Linked DNA regions of Homo sapiens: all the other regions are linked to region 1. The links are contacts of gene promoters, found by promoter capture Hi-C in blood cells and fetal thymus (Javierre and others, 2016). All regions are on one chromosome and are shown on one strand. Each heading gives the region's core, a stretch centred on a gene start or on the middle of the fragment in contact. The rest is flanking DNA. Distances are from core to core; before and after follow the strand shown. Region 1 overlaps KANSL3 (KAT8 regulatory NSL complex subunit 3). Region 2 holds the start of ADRA2B (adrenoceptor alpha 2B). Region 3 holds the start of STARD7-AS1 (STARD7 antisense RNA 1).

The links. The method cuts DNA at HindIII sites, captures the fragments that hold promoters and counts their contacts. A CHiCAGO score of 5 or more calls a contact.
Region 2: a contact is called between the fragment with the promoter of ADRA2B here and a fragment that was not itself captured in region 1, in 4 of 17 cell types (total B cells, M0 macrophages, fetal thymus and 1 more). The highest score is 6.9, in total B cells.
Region 3: the fragment with the promoter of STARD7-AS1 here is called in contact with a fragment that was not itself captured in region 1 in 1 of 17 cell types (non-activated CD4 T cells); the score reaches 5.2 in non-activated CD4 T cells.

Annotation. Positions count from the first base shown.
Region 1 is chr2:96,615,005-96,619,419 of GRCh38, reverse strand. KANSL3 (KAT8 regulatory NSL complex subunit 3) reads left to right here. Exons shown (of 21, transcript NM_001115016.3): 5 at 1-61. Among named protein-coding and RNA genes, the nearest start is that of KANSL3, 21 kb to the left of the region's middle. The HindIII fragment of the contact is 2,315 bases long and covers 703-3,017 here.
Region 2 is chr2:96,115,248-96,119,662 of GRCh38, reverse strand. It overlaps ADRA2B (adrenoceptor alpha 2B), which reads left to right and starts at 3,092. Exons shown (of 1, transcript NM_000682.7): 1 at 3,092-4,415. The coding sequence starts at 3,514. RefSeq lists silencers at 2,263-2,332, 2,373-2,832, 2,843-3,002, 3,103-3,192. The HindIII fragment of the contact is 8,066 bases long and covers 1-4,415 here.
Region 3 is chr2:96,206,783-96,211,197 of GRCh38, reverse strand. STARD7-AS1 (STARD7 antisense RNA 1) reads right to left here and starts at 2,782. Exons shown (of 4, transcript NR_046322.1): 1 at 2,219-2,782. STARD7 (StAR related lipid transfer domain containing 7) reads left to right here and starts at 2,371. Exons shown (of 8, transcript NM_020151.4): 1 at 2,371-3,053. The coding sequence starts at 2,764. RefSeq lists silencers at 2,125-2,344, 2,695-2,954 and an enhancer at 2,087-2,677. The HindIII fragment of the contact is 17,331 bases long and covers 1-4,415 here.

The DNA of each region.
Region 1 (4,415 bases), core at 611-3,110:
GACCTTGAGTCTGCCCATGCTGGCAGCCTACCTGGATGCTTTGCAGACGCTGAAGGGGAAGGTAAGGCTGTGATTGGGGTCTGCCCTGTCCTAGGGATAGCCATCCTCCCCTGTGGGTTCAGGATGTGGGGTTAGGCAAAGTAATTATCTGGTCGGTCTGGAGTGCATGGCCAAAACTAATGGGTTTGGTACTAAAATTGGGAGACAGGGTATCATTTCACATTTGTGTCTGGTGTAAACGTTTTCAGCCCTGCTGGCTCCAGGATGAGGTATGGGGCCTGAAAACCAGAGTATACATTTAGCCTTCCTAGCCTTGCAGCTTGTGGTTTGAGTCATGGCTGAATTGAATTATCATGAAGGAGACGAAGGGTTTACCAGGGAAGAGTTTGTTGAGAAAGGTGACAGAAGCAGACCCTTGGTGCTCGGAGCACTGGGAGATTGCAGAGCAGGAACGTGCCGTGATGCCTTCAATTCTGCTCCCCAGGGCATGAGCCTTTAGTAGCAACACTTAGACTTTTATAATTCAGTACAAACATATCATTATAGTTCCCTGCTTTCTTACTTAGTATTGCACAAAGTTAAACTGTTTTTCTTGGTGATTCCAGTGATTGCATCAGGCTATCGTCAATGTGGTAGAATGCGGATGCTGGAGGCAGATTGCCTGGCTGATCTCAGCTTTGTTACTGATTAGCTGTGTAAGCTTGGACTGGTGTCTCATCTCTAAAATGTGGCTGATAATAATAGCTATCTAGGATTTTTATGAAAATTAAATTAGTTAATTCAGGTAGGGGGCTTAACACAAAATTGGGCACATAGTAAGCAGTGAGCCCACAGTAATTATTATTACTAATATTAACAGTTATTTAAGTAGTACCCTCATAGGTTCTTGAAATATTTGGGGTGTTTTGCTCCAATACAAAATGGCCTCACGGCCGGGCATAGTAGCTCATGCCTATTATCCTAGCACTTCGGGAGGCTGAGGCAGGAGGATCGCTTTAGCTCAGGAGTTTGAGACCAGCCTGAGCAACATAGCAAGACCTTGTCTCTACTAAAAATAAAATAATTAGCCAGGCATGGTGGCACACGTCTGTAGTCCCAGCTAGTTAGGAGGCTGGTGGGAGGAGGCTGTAGTGAGTTCAGTCCCACCACTGCACTCCAGCCTGGGTGACAGAGGGAGTCCCTGTCTCTAAGAAAGAGAGAGAGAGAGAAGAGAAAGAACCAAATCAATCCAAGTTGTCTGAGGCCTTTTTTTTTTTTCTTTGGAGACAGGATCTTCCTCTCTCACTCAGGCTGGAGTGCAGTGGCACTATCATTGCTTGCTATAACTTCGAACTCCTGGGCTCAAGCAATCCGTCTGCCTCAGCCTCCCAAGTACTGGGACTAGAGGTGTGTGCTACCACCACACCCAGCAAAGAAATTTTTTTTTTTTTTTTTTTTGAGACAAAGTCTCACTCTGTCGCCCAGGCTGGAATGCAGTGGCACGATCTCGGCTCACTGCAACTTCTGCCTCCTGGGTTGAAGCAATTCTGCCTCAGCCTCCTGAGTAGCTGAGACTACAGGCGTGTGCCACCCCGCCCAGCTAATTTTTTTTGTATTTTTAGTAGAGATAGGGTTTCACCATGTCTCGATCTCCTGACCTCGTGATCCGCCCGCCTCGGCCTCCCAAAGTGCTGGGATTACAGGCGTGAGCTGCCGTGCCCTGCCACACCCAGCTAAATTTTTAATTTTTTTGTAGAGACGGTCTTGCTATAGGCTCGTCTTGAATTCCTGGCCTCAAGCAGTCCTCCCATCTTGTCCTCCCAAATTGCTGGGATTACAGGCATAAGCATGATTCAGTTTTTGACACTTTTTTTTTTTTTTTTAATAGTTTTACTTTCTGCTTCACAGGAAGCTGGCTCATCTTGCTGCTGTAAGTTGCCTGGCCAACACGTTCCCTCAGCCACATCCCCAAAACTTGCAGACTCATTGTTTCTTATGTGTTTTTAAGTTAAAGGGTGCCAAGTTTGTTAGAAGACTGGTTTAGTGCTGAAATAAAACTCAGGACTAGATACATTAATGATATTCATGGTAGGAAATTTGACACTAGTTTTTTTGTTTAACTAATACTTATTTTGGGCCCTACGTGTGTCAGGTACTGGGGTGAGCAAAACAAAACTGGTCCCTTCTCTGGTGGAGTGTATTTTCTAGTGAAGAAAGAGACAAATGAAAAGGGAGTCCCAGACTTTCCCCTGTACTGCTCCCCTGTAGTAGAAACCCTGGACCCGGGAGGTGAGTGGTGGGCAGGTAGAGTGTGGGGCCCAGACTGGATCCTGGCAGACAGAGAGTGGTGGCCCAGAAGTATCGTAGGCATCTTCACATATGTTCTCCTCAGCATTCTACCTACGGTAAAAGTGTAACATTGGTGAATACACTGTAGGAGATGAGTGTTGGTAGTGGCCAGGGTCTCAGTTCTCTGGTGACCCTGCTTCACTCACTGTGGCTAGCATAATTTCCCTTTAAGGAGGAATTTGTACTGCTGCCCTATTTAAGTTACTGACTGGACATCTCCTGGGTGCATGTCGGATATTATGAGCATGGCAGACCACTGGGGGGACTCCATAGCATGCATAGTTGGGTGTTTTCCTCCCATGCTGCTGGGCCACGGTGTGGGTTGACTGGAATAGTGGAAGGCTCGCTGGTACACCAGTCAGCAAGGGCCTCAGACTCAAGGCAACATCCTCTCTGGGCTGTGCTCTCCGCAGTGGTTCCTCTGCCATCGGACTCTTATTTTCCCATGACTATATTTAGATTCACAACAAATACTTTGGTTGTTTCCCAAAGGATATAAATGATTATAGGATTGTTTTACTTTTAAAGTGCCTGCTGGATGTGAAAGCGCAGGTGGATGGGATCATGCTCTTCACCCAGCTACTTTCACTATTAGATCCATTATGATAAAGAGGGCAGAGAAGGTATAGACCTTAGCCTTTTAATTGGCTGTTGAGAGTGAATGCAATGCTGGAAGGGCCAGGGAAGCTTGGTCTTCCCAGCTCCAAGTGGAAAAGTCAGTATTGATTTTTTATCCCTTGTTGACAGGAAGCAAGTGTCAAGGCTTTTTGGTTTCAAAGCTATATACTACTGTTAGATAAAGCTTAACCCAGGGTCACATCCTTTGCCTCAAAGTGTTGAGTGGCTCACAGTTCTAGAGTGAGTTACAAAGAACATGAAGATCCTTTGCAGTTTGGTCTTATCCTTTGCGGTTTGGTCCTATCCTTCCTACTGGCTTTTTACATCCTCCTCCTTCCTTACTTGCATCCTTGACTTTTGTCCATCTGTGCCTGGAATAAGCTCTACACATTCTTGCCTCTTGCTGGTGTCTCTGATGGGAAGGCTTTTCTCTCATCTTCTGTTGGAATCCTGCCTGTTCCAAAGAGCCTGTCTCATTTCACATGCTGTATCTTTAGATGAAAATTGCCTCTTAACTTCTTCTCCATTGGGTGGTTTGAATCATAGCAGTTTGGGCTTCTGTTTCTTTCATGGCAGTTATCGGTCTTTCCCTATTCCTGTCCCCCACCATTATTTGTGTGTTTGTCTTCCTTACCTCTTGTAGATTAAATTCCTCTGCAGTACTAGCCTGGTACCTTGTAAAAGCAGTTGCACGAATATTTCTTTCCTGAGTTAAACTGAGAAAGTCTAATGGTTATAATTCTCTAATTTCTCATACAGAAATCCTTTTAGTGTCCCTGTTTTTAAATTAAGAGCAACTTATCTTCTGCTATTTTTGGAGTTTTACAACTTGCATCAAACCGTAGTACTTTTTATTCTCCAATTTTTCAAAACCTTTTTCTTTCTCTGAAAACTGCCTCTAATATTTAAACATTTTTCCTTTCCCCTAGGTCATTTTGACCTTTTGTGGGTAGCATGGAATTCGCAGATATTTCTTCTCAGTGTAAGCATCAACATGTCTGAAACCTATATTTGCACATCTGTAATGTCACATTTCTGGTAGATAGTAAAAAACAGACATGAGATAAAGTACACTGTATATAGTATAGCAGGATATATATTTTTGTACATAATAACAGATTTATTTAGTACACCACAGCTTGAAGGCAGTACTCTAGAAGAAAATGGAGATTTAAAAATATTATAAAATCAACTGATACTCATTGAGGAAATTTAGGGAACATAGAAATCTGTAAAGGAAAAAGTCACCCATAAACTCCATAGAGATCATTATTAACATTTTGTCTTTTTTTTTTTTTTTTTTTTTTTGAGACAGTCTCCCTCTGTTTCCCAGGCTGGAGTGCGGTGGCACACTCTTGGCTCACTGCAACCTCTGCCTCCTGGGTTCAAGCGATTCTCGTGTCTCAGCTTCCTGAGTAGCTGGGACTACAGGTGTGCAGCATATTTTCTTTAAAATATGATTCTATTAT
Region 2 (4,415 bases), core at 1,843-4,342, 500 kb after region 1:
CATTTGGGCTATCTGTCTTAGAATGCTCATGTGTATGAGTGCACTGTTGCCTGCTGCCACTGTCCCTCACGGCCAATGACCTTGTGCCAGGTACTGGGGACAGAGAAGGGATGTCCACTCTGATGGGCAGAGGTGATGCAACAAACCCATCAGAGAGCATCTTAGTACAGTGTGCTGAGTGTGAAAGTGGTGCCGCCTGGCGTCGAGGAACCTGGAGAATGGAGGTCCTCCCTCTGCCTGAGAGCCTGGTGACTGGTGAGTGGGCCTTGAAATGTGAGTAGGAGCCCACCAAACACAGAAGGAAGGGTGATAGGGCATCTCTATCAGAGCAAACAGCCCCAGGGAAGGTCTAGAGAGTGGAGACCCAGGGCACATTCAGAATCCAACACTGGCCTGGCGGGGCAGGGATGGAGGGCTGGGATCCAGGTTGTGCCCTGCTGCCCACTCCCCTGCTATGTGTCTGGGAAAGCTCCGGCTGCTCCTGCTGCTGGCTGTTGCTGGTCTGGGACTGAACTATGCCCGTTCCTGTGGAACAGGATGACAGTGGAAGGTCAGGTCTAGTTTGGGAAGAGCTGAAGGAAGCCTTGCTATGCTAGTAGGCTCCAATTCCTGCACCTGGCAGCCTCATGGGGCTGGTTGGAGCAGGCAAGGCCTGAAGGTGTGTGTGTGCGGGGGGAGATGGTGAGCCGCCGAGAGGAGCAGGAGCTGAGTTATGTTATGGCCTGCGTGGCCGTGGAGAGCTGGCGCACCCACGCTGCACTTGTCCATCCTGGGGTGGAGCCAGGAGGAGACAGCTGCAGTAGACGGTGACAGCCTGGGGCAGCGGTATGGATGCCAAGGCAGCTCCTGCTGCCCGGAGGGCACACATCTCCCAGGTCTGCCAGCTGTAGACTCTGTCCCTGGCTGTCCCCACCTGGCCTAGTGCCTAGCTGGCCCAATGAAAGATGCCTAGCAAGGCTTGGCACTCAGTAGACCCAAAGTTGTCACTTCTAGGAAGGCCCAGGTAAGCGTCCTCAGTGGGGACTTGCAGGGTGGGGAGGGCACACGGGCAACCCAGTCTCAGCTCCTGCAGCATCCCTTGAAGGAAGATGGGTCAGAAGACAAAGGCTGATGCTGGCTGCAGAGTCTGGGGAGCTGCTCACTGGCCCCCAGCCCAAGTGTGGTTGGAGACAGTGGAAAGGCGGTTCCTCCCGATGCCCATGTGGGCCTCTAGCAGGCCCAGACTGTGAAGGCCTTGGGAGCCCCTGGATAGGCAGGCACCTGCCTAAGTAGCTGCTCCCAGGCTCTCATGGCCACCCTCTGTCCTTCCTCAGGGAAAGAGCTACTGGCATCTCTCCATCACTGGTTATGTATGCCCAGGCGGCGCCCAGGCCCTGCCCAGCCCAGAGGGTGGGAAAGACACATCCAGGAAACTGTGTCTAGCAGAGTGGTCGGTTTTGAGCTGAAGCCTAGGGTTGGGGGTGGGAAGGAGGCTGATTGCCCTGTCCGAACCCAGCCCTGGCAGCATCCACCCCATGGGCTGTGGGCACTTGCACCTCACCAGAAGCTGGGGAGTCTGGCAGAATGACAGGGATGGGGGGATCAAGGAGGCACCTACTCCCAACACACCCCCGTGGCTGGGGGTGCTGGTCTGGGTACCTGAGACGGGGCACCTCCCACCTGAGCCTGGGGAGGCGCTAGACATTGTCCGTGGGCACTGAGAGGCCACGTGCTCTGCTCCCATGGAGGGAGCAGGGAGGAGAGGAGGTCCAGCAGGTTGGACGGGGCCTGGGGGAGCCCCACTGTCAGAGGTGGATTGGTGCTTATTTATACAGAGGATGCCTTGCAGAGTCGTGGGCTGTGAATAAGAGGCCTGGCTCGAGGCGGGGCTTATGACATTAGGGGCTCCAGAACCGGGGAAACATGCCCTCAGGGCTGCCCAGGCTGGTGCTGGTGGCGGTGTGGCAGGGAGAGTGAGTTGGGGCCCTGAGGGAGAACAGTTGCTCATAGCGCTTTGAAGGCGAGTGGGGGGCCTTAGTCTGAAGTTTCTTTTTACCCCAACCCTCTTTCCACTGTCACCCCCAGAAGGGCTTCAGTGTGTATGTGGGGCAGGACCGCAGCAGGGAGGGAGGGTCAACCCCTTCCCCCGGGGTCACTACAGAAGCGGAGGGACGCTCCTCTCTTCACGGCTGCCCCTGAGACCTGCTTTTTCTCGGAGCTGTGTGACAAAGTCCCCACCCTTTACTCCCCCACGGCAAGGAAGGGACCTCCCCTTCGCATTAGTCAAGGGGCGGCAGCTCGCCCTGTGCCCCGTACAAACCCTTGGCTGAATCGCAGTTGATGCTGTGATTCGAGTCCAAGCCAGTTTCCCTGTTACCTCCTTTGCCCTTAATGGAGGAAACTGAGGCAGCTGCGGAGACACAAGAAGCCGAAGTCCTAAGACCCAGGCTGCGAGCGCTGGCTCCGGGACCCGGGCTGCCGCTGACGGGCTGGGCCCGCGGGCGGCAGCAGGGGGCGCTCGCAGGCCGGGACGCGCCCTCCTCGCGCGGCGCTGGCCCGACGGAGCTGGTCCGCGAGGGGCAGCGCCTGGGAAAGGGTCGGGACCGGCTCCCCGCTCCCCGCTCCCCCACCTCTCCGCAGGGCGTCTCCACGGCCGAGCCGGGCGGGGTTGTGGTGTATTGCGACCCGGCGCCCCAGCCCCACGCCCGCCCTGCCCTCCCTGCGGGCTCCCGAGCGGCGGAAGGCAGAGCAGGGCGCACCGGCGCCGGGCCCAGCCCGGTTCCCCCGGGAGAAGTGTCCCGTCCCGGTGCCGGCCCGCGCGCTAGCTCCGCGTCCCGGCTCCCGGCACCCACCGACCCCTCCACAGCTGCGCGCGTCCTGCCTGGGGGCCGGAGACCCCGGCCGCCGGGCCCCTCCGCTCTCCCGAGGCGCGGCCGCCGGGAGGAAGGCAGGTAGAGGCGCTGGGCGGGGTCCGGGCGCGGGAAGTCCCGGGCTCACGCCTCCCGCGAAGCGCACCTTCAGCCCACCTCGGTCCGCCCACCGCCCCGCCTCCCGCCCGCTCCCGCGCCCGCCTCCAGTCTCCGCCTTCCTCCAGCCGCTCTCCCCGCTCCCCACTCCCCTGCAGGCGCGGCTGGGGCGAAAGCCTGCGAGCTGAGCGGGCGCAAGGTCCTCCGCGCCTCCTTTAAGAACCGGCCCAGCCCGGCCCGCGCCCCCAGAGCGTACGGCATCCGCGTGGCGGGAGGGCGCGACTTTCTCCGGTCCCGGGCGGGACGGGGACGGCGGCGGGACAACTTGGGAAACTTCTCTGGGGCGGACGGCAGGGACCCCGGGCACCGGTGGAGGAGGATGTAGGAGGGCGGCTGCTGGTCCTGGGTGTTCCCGACCTCCTAGGCCCCGCTCGTCCAGGCCATGGGGCTCCAGCGCCCTCGGCGCCGCCCGAGGGGCGACGCTCTTGTCTAGCCGAGCCGGGCAGCGCTGTCGTCCACGGTGCGCACTGGGCGGGCAGCGCTCCCTCTGCCCACCTCCCGCCCCGTCATGGACCACCAGGACCCCTACTCCGTGCAGGCCACAGCGGCCATAGCGGCGGCCATCACCTTCCTCATTCTCTTTACCATCTTCGGCAACGCTCTGGTCATCCTGGCTGTGTTGACCAGCCGCTCGCTGCGCGCCCCTCAGAACCTGTTCCTGGTGTCGCTGGCCGCCGCCGACATCCTGGTGGCCACGCTCATCATCCCTTTCTCGCTGGCCAACGAGCTGCTGGGCTACTGGTACTTCCGGCGCACGTGGTGCGAGGTGTACCTGGCGCTCGACGTGCTCTTCTGCACCTCGTCCATCGTGCACCTGTGCGCCATCAGCCTGGACCGCTACTGGGCCGTGAGCCGCGCGCTGGAGTACAACTCCAAGCGCACCCCGCGCCGCATCAAGTGCATCATCCTCACTGTGTGGCTCATCGCCGCCGTCATCTCGCTGCCGCCCCTCATCTACAAGGGCGACCAGGGCCCCCAGCCGCGCGGGCGCCCCCAGTGCAAGCTCAACCAGGAGGCCTGGTACATCCTGGCCTCCAGCATCGGATCTTTCTTTGCTCCTTGCCTCATCATGATCCTTGTCTACCTGCGCATCTACCTGATCGCCAAACGCAGCAACCGCAGAGGTCCCAGGGCCAAGGGGGGGCCTGGGCAGGGTGAGTCCAAGCAGCCCCGACCCGACCATGGTGGGGCTTTGGCCTCAGCCAAACTGCCAGCCCTGGCCTCTGTGGCTTCTGCCAGAGAGGTCAACGGACACTCGAAGTCCACTGGGGAGAAGGAGGAGGGGGAGACCCCTGAAGATACTGGGACCCGGGCCTTGCCACCCAGTTGGGCTGCCCTTCCCAACTCAGGCCAGGGCCAGAAGGAGGGTGTTTGTGGGGCATCTCCAGAGGATGAAGCTGAAGAGGAGGA
Region 3 (4,415 bases), core at 1,533-4,032, 410 kb after region 1:
TGTCAAGATAACTTAGGTCTCCTGAGCCTGTTAGAAAGTGACATTCTTTACTTACCACAGGTCAGGAACCTCGTACAGGGACTGTGTTGACATAGTATGAGGCCAGATTTCCCAAGGGGCTCTATAAGTCAATTTTTTGGCTTATTGGCTCTATAAGTCAACTTTGTTTTTTTTTTTTTTGAGACGGAGTCTCGCTCTGTCGCCCAGGGTGGAGTGTAGTGGCGCGATCTCGGCTCACTGCTGCAAGCTCCACCTCCCGGGTTCACGCCATTCTCCTGCCTCAGCCTCCCGAGTAGCTAGGATTACAGGTGCCCACTACCACGCCCGGCTAATTTTTTGTATTTTTAGTAGAGACGAGGTTTCACCGTGTTAGCCAGGATGGTCTGGATCTTCTGACCTCGTGATCCGCCCGCCTTGGCCTCCCAAAGTGCTGGGATTAAAAGTGTGAGCCACCATGCCCGGCCTAGAGCTCTTTTTTCTAAGAAAAAATCCTTTTAAGGCCAGGCACGGTGGGTCATTGAATCGTGAATTCAATGGGTGGTCTCTGAGCAGTCACCCTGAATCAGGCCTGTTAAACTTCTTTCAGGGCTCACTGAATGTGACTAGATAAATAAGGAGTGTTCTCCAAGTTAGGCCTGCTGGATTTTCATCAGCAATTCCTTCAGAGATCCCCTCCATATATACAAACACACACACGAAGACAAGACAGACAGAAGGCCTTCCAAATTAAGGTCCCTAACCAAGAACTCCAAGAGTACCCCTTCCAAACTATCCTCCTATTCTCCATCTGACAAATCTCCCTGAAATATTCCTGATTGAGAAGTCTCCCGAACCAAGACTCTTCCTAGTTAGGGACAGCCAACTGGGATGCCCCAGGAGCCAAACTGAGACAGACACCCCATGGTGGAGCTACAGACACCCACCATGTGGCTACAGAATCAGTCCGGAGAAGGAAGGAGGCACTGGCAGCACCTAGGATACTCAGCAACCTGCCACCCCATGATGGGGCTATAGCTACAGACACTCCATGACCTGGCTACAGCGCCCCGCTATGGAGCTACAGATACCCTGTGACAGGGCTACAGTTATGGGATGTCTCCCCAGGACTATTTCTCCATTGCGATTAAGTCCATGCATATTGGGCTAGCAGTGCCCCACTGGCAGAGACGGTGCCAGAGTTAGCCCCTAGTCCAAGAGAACTATGTGGCCGCTTAGGCTGGCCTCTGGATCTGTCACCAGAGGTGGGGCTACCGAACCATGGACAGGTAGCCACAAGGGGTATCCCAGACGAACCCCCAAATTTGTAACCGTACAATGGGTTCACCTTGCCCACTGCCTAGACAGAGCCGATTTATCAAGACAGGGGAACTGCAATAAAGAGTAATTCACGCAGAGCCCACTATGAGACTGGAGTTTGTTTCAACATTACTCAATCAGTCTCCCTTAGCATTCCGGGATCAGAGTGTTTAAGGATAATTTGGTGGGTGGGGGAAGGCCAGTGAGTCCAGAGTGTTGACTGGTTGGGTCGAGATGAAATAATAGGGAATTGAAGCTGTCCTCTTGCACTGAGTTGGTTCCTGGGTGGGGGCCACAAGGTCAGATGAGCCAGTTTATCCATCTGGGTGGTGCCAGGATCCAACCAGTGCGGGGTCAGCAAAATATCTCAAGCACTGATCTTAAGAGCAGTTTAGGGGGATCACAATATCGTAGCCTCCAGCTGCATGACTCCTAAACCATAATTTCCAATCTTATGGCTAACTTATTAGTCCTACAAAGGCAGTCTAGTTCCCAGATAAGAAGATTTGTTTTGGGAAAGGGCTGTTATCCTCTTTATTTTAAACTATAAACTAAGTTCCTCCCAAAATTAGTTCACCTAAGCTCAGGAATGAACAAGGACAGAAGCAAGATGGAATTGGTTAGGTCAGATCTCTTTCACTGTCTCAGTTTTAATTCTGCAATGGCGGTTATCACTGGGAGCCCCCAGCCCCCGCAGAGACATGCGGAGCCCCGCCCCCACCCTGCACTCTAATAAAGAAGGGGGCCAGCGTGCCGGCCTCTTAAAACAAGTTAACACCTGGCAGGATTCTAACAGGAACCTGGCCAGGTTTCTCCGCGGGGCGGGGCTGGGACGGCCGGAAGATGGCGGCGACGGCGGCAGCCGGGTCCGAGGGTCACTCTCCAATGCGCCCTTGACGGCTCTCGCCGCCGAGCCACCTACCTTGCTAGCAGGCGGCCTCCGCGCATGCATGAAGGGGCAGGAGGGGGCGGTGACGAGCACTTCACGGCGCCAATGAGCACCCAGGAGCCCAGGTCGCGCCCAATCACGGCCCAGGTGGCGGAGAAAAAGTAGGGTGCGCGCGCGCCGCGCGTGTGGCAGTCGCGGAAGGCGCGGGAGCTTGCGTGCTGCTGGGCCTGAGCTGTCTGTCTCGTTTCTGTCCGCGCGCCCTGCATCCCGGCCCCGGGCGCCCGCTGGAGGTCGCCGAGGAGCCACAGGGCTGACTGGTCTGCTGCCCGGGCCCAGGAGTGCCTGGTGTAGCAGTCGCGGAGCCATCCCGGCGTCTGCTGCCATGACCGACTCTCCCCTCAGAGGAGACTCTTCCTCAGCGGTGGCTGCAGAGACAGATGAGCGGCGGCTCCTGGCCGCGGGACCGTGAGACGGGTTCGTGGCCGGCCATTTAGGGGGACGCTGCGACCACCGCCTGCGCCCCTCCGGACTGGTTCCTTGGGCCCCGGAAGCTCGCGGCGGGCCCTGCGGGAGGCGGCATGCTCCCGCGGAGGCTGCTGGCCGCCTGGCTGGCGGGGACGCGGGGCGGGGGCCTGCTGGCGCTTCTGGCCAATCAGTGCCGCTTCGTCACGGGCCTGCGCGTGCGGCGCGCGCAGCAGATCGCGCAGCTCTACGGCCGCCTCTACTCCGAGAGCTCACGCCGCGTTCTCCTCGGCCGCCTCTGGCGCCGGCTGCACGGCCGTCCTGGCCATGCCTCTGCCTTGATGGCGGCGTTAGCCGGCGTCTTCGTTTGGGACGAGGAGAGGATCCAGGAGGAGGAGTTGCAGAGGTGGGCGCTGCGGCGAGCTCTTTCTGGGCCGTGGGGTGGGGGGGCTTGTGAACCCTGGGGCCTGCCCTGTGGTCGTTGGCCCTTGTTTACCCGGTGGTCTTTTAATTGGCAATACAGTCGATTGAACCTGCTTCAGCAAACCGCGTTGTTATTTGTCTCTGTGTGTCAATTTGCATTTGTCGGGTTATAAAATAGAACTGAAAGTGTGTAGGCTGGTGTGTAGGAGGGAGACTTTGAGTGGGGCGAGCAAGACAGTAAAGAAACAACACTGTAGAAATCAATTAGATAGCGAAGGCATGGAGGCCCTTGTTCATGTAATCTGTAATCTTTAACACAACCAGAAAGGTGCAAATTCAAAACAAATTTTAAATTTGGCCTAAGGGTGGTGGGCTGCTATTTGCAAAATGACTTCAATCCAGATGGGACTCAGGCCTGTGAGAAAAGCCAGGAGAGCCCTCTGTCATCGTGACTCGTGGCAAAATTGAGAGCCTGGAAGCGATTTTGTCCAGGTTACACAAACCAGCAGCCCAGACATTTGAACCTGTAAGAATTAGGTCAGATTTTTGCGACGTTAACTAGAACTTTGGGAATAGTGTCCCATTAGACTCTGAAGTCATGCTGTCGTCATCAAAACTGTGAAAAGCCCAGTACCATTGATTACGTTTGTTAATCTGTAGTTCTGAGACTGTAGTTTCCAGGTAATGTCATGGGGAAACTTTGCTTTGGTTTTTGGTTTACCTTGTGTCTGTATTTTCTTTGCAACAGATATTCTTAAACTGTGCCCTCCCTGCACAGAAAGTACTTTGCCGTGATTTCGGGAACCAGAGACAATCCCCTCCCTCCGCAGATTCCACACTCGCCTGTTTATTCTTGATATTTCCTCCACAGGGAAACAACCTGTTATTCCACATTTTTTGTTAGGTTAAAAATGGAAATACCCCAATAAAGTTTATACCATGGCCTGTGTGGGAGGTGTAACACCCAGATGCCAGGCAGCTATTTGTGCCACACTATGAATTGTGGGTAAATGCAAGTCTATCTTAAGAACTGGGAATACTTTTCCTAGCAGGAAAGATAACTTTTATAAATGCAACTTAAAATAATAACCACAAACAACCTTATTCACAAAAAAGTTAAGCTATCAAAGCGTGATAGGTATTTTGCCTAGTTCCTATTAGTATTCTTTTGCTACTTGGCCATTGGTTATAATCACAGTCTCTTGGGTGTGGGAAATAAAAGAATAGGAAGAAAACTTCTAAGTTGACAAATTATCATTAACTTTTAATTTTCATTTTTGATGATGAAATGTCCGTGTTCCACTTTTTTTTTTTTTTTTTTTTTTTTGAGACGGAGTCTCGCTCT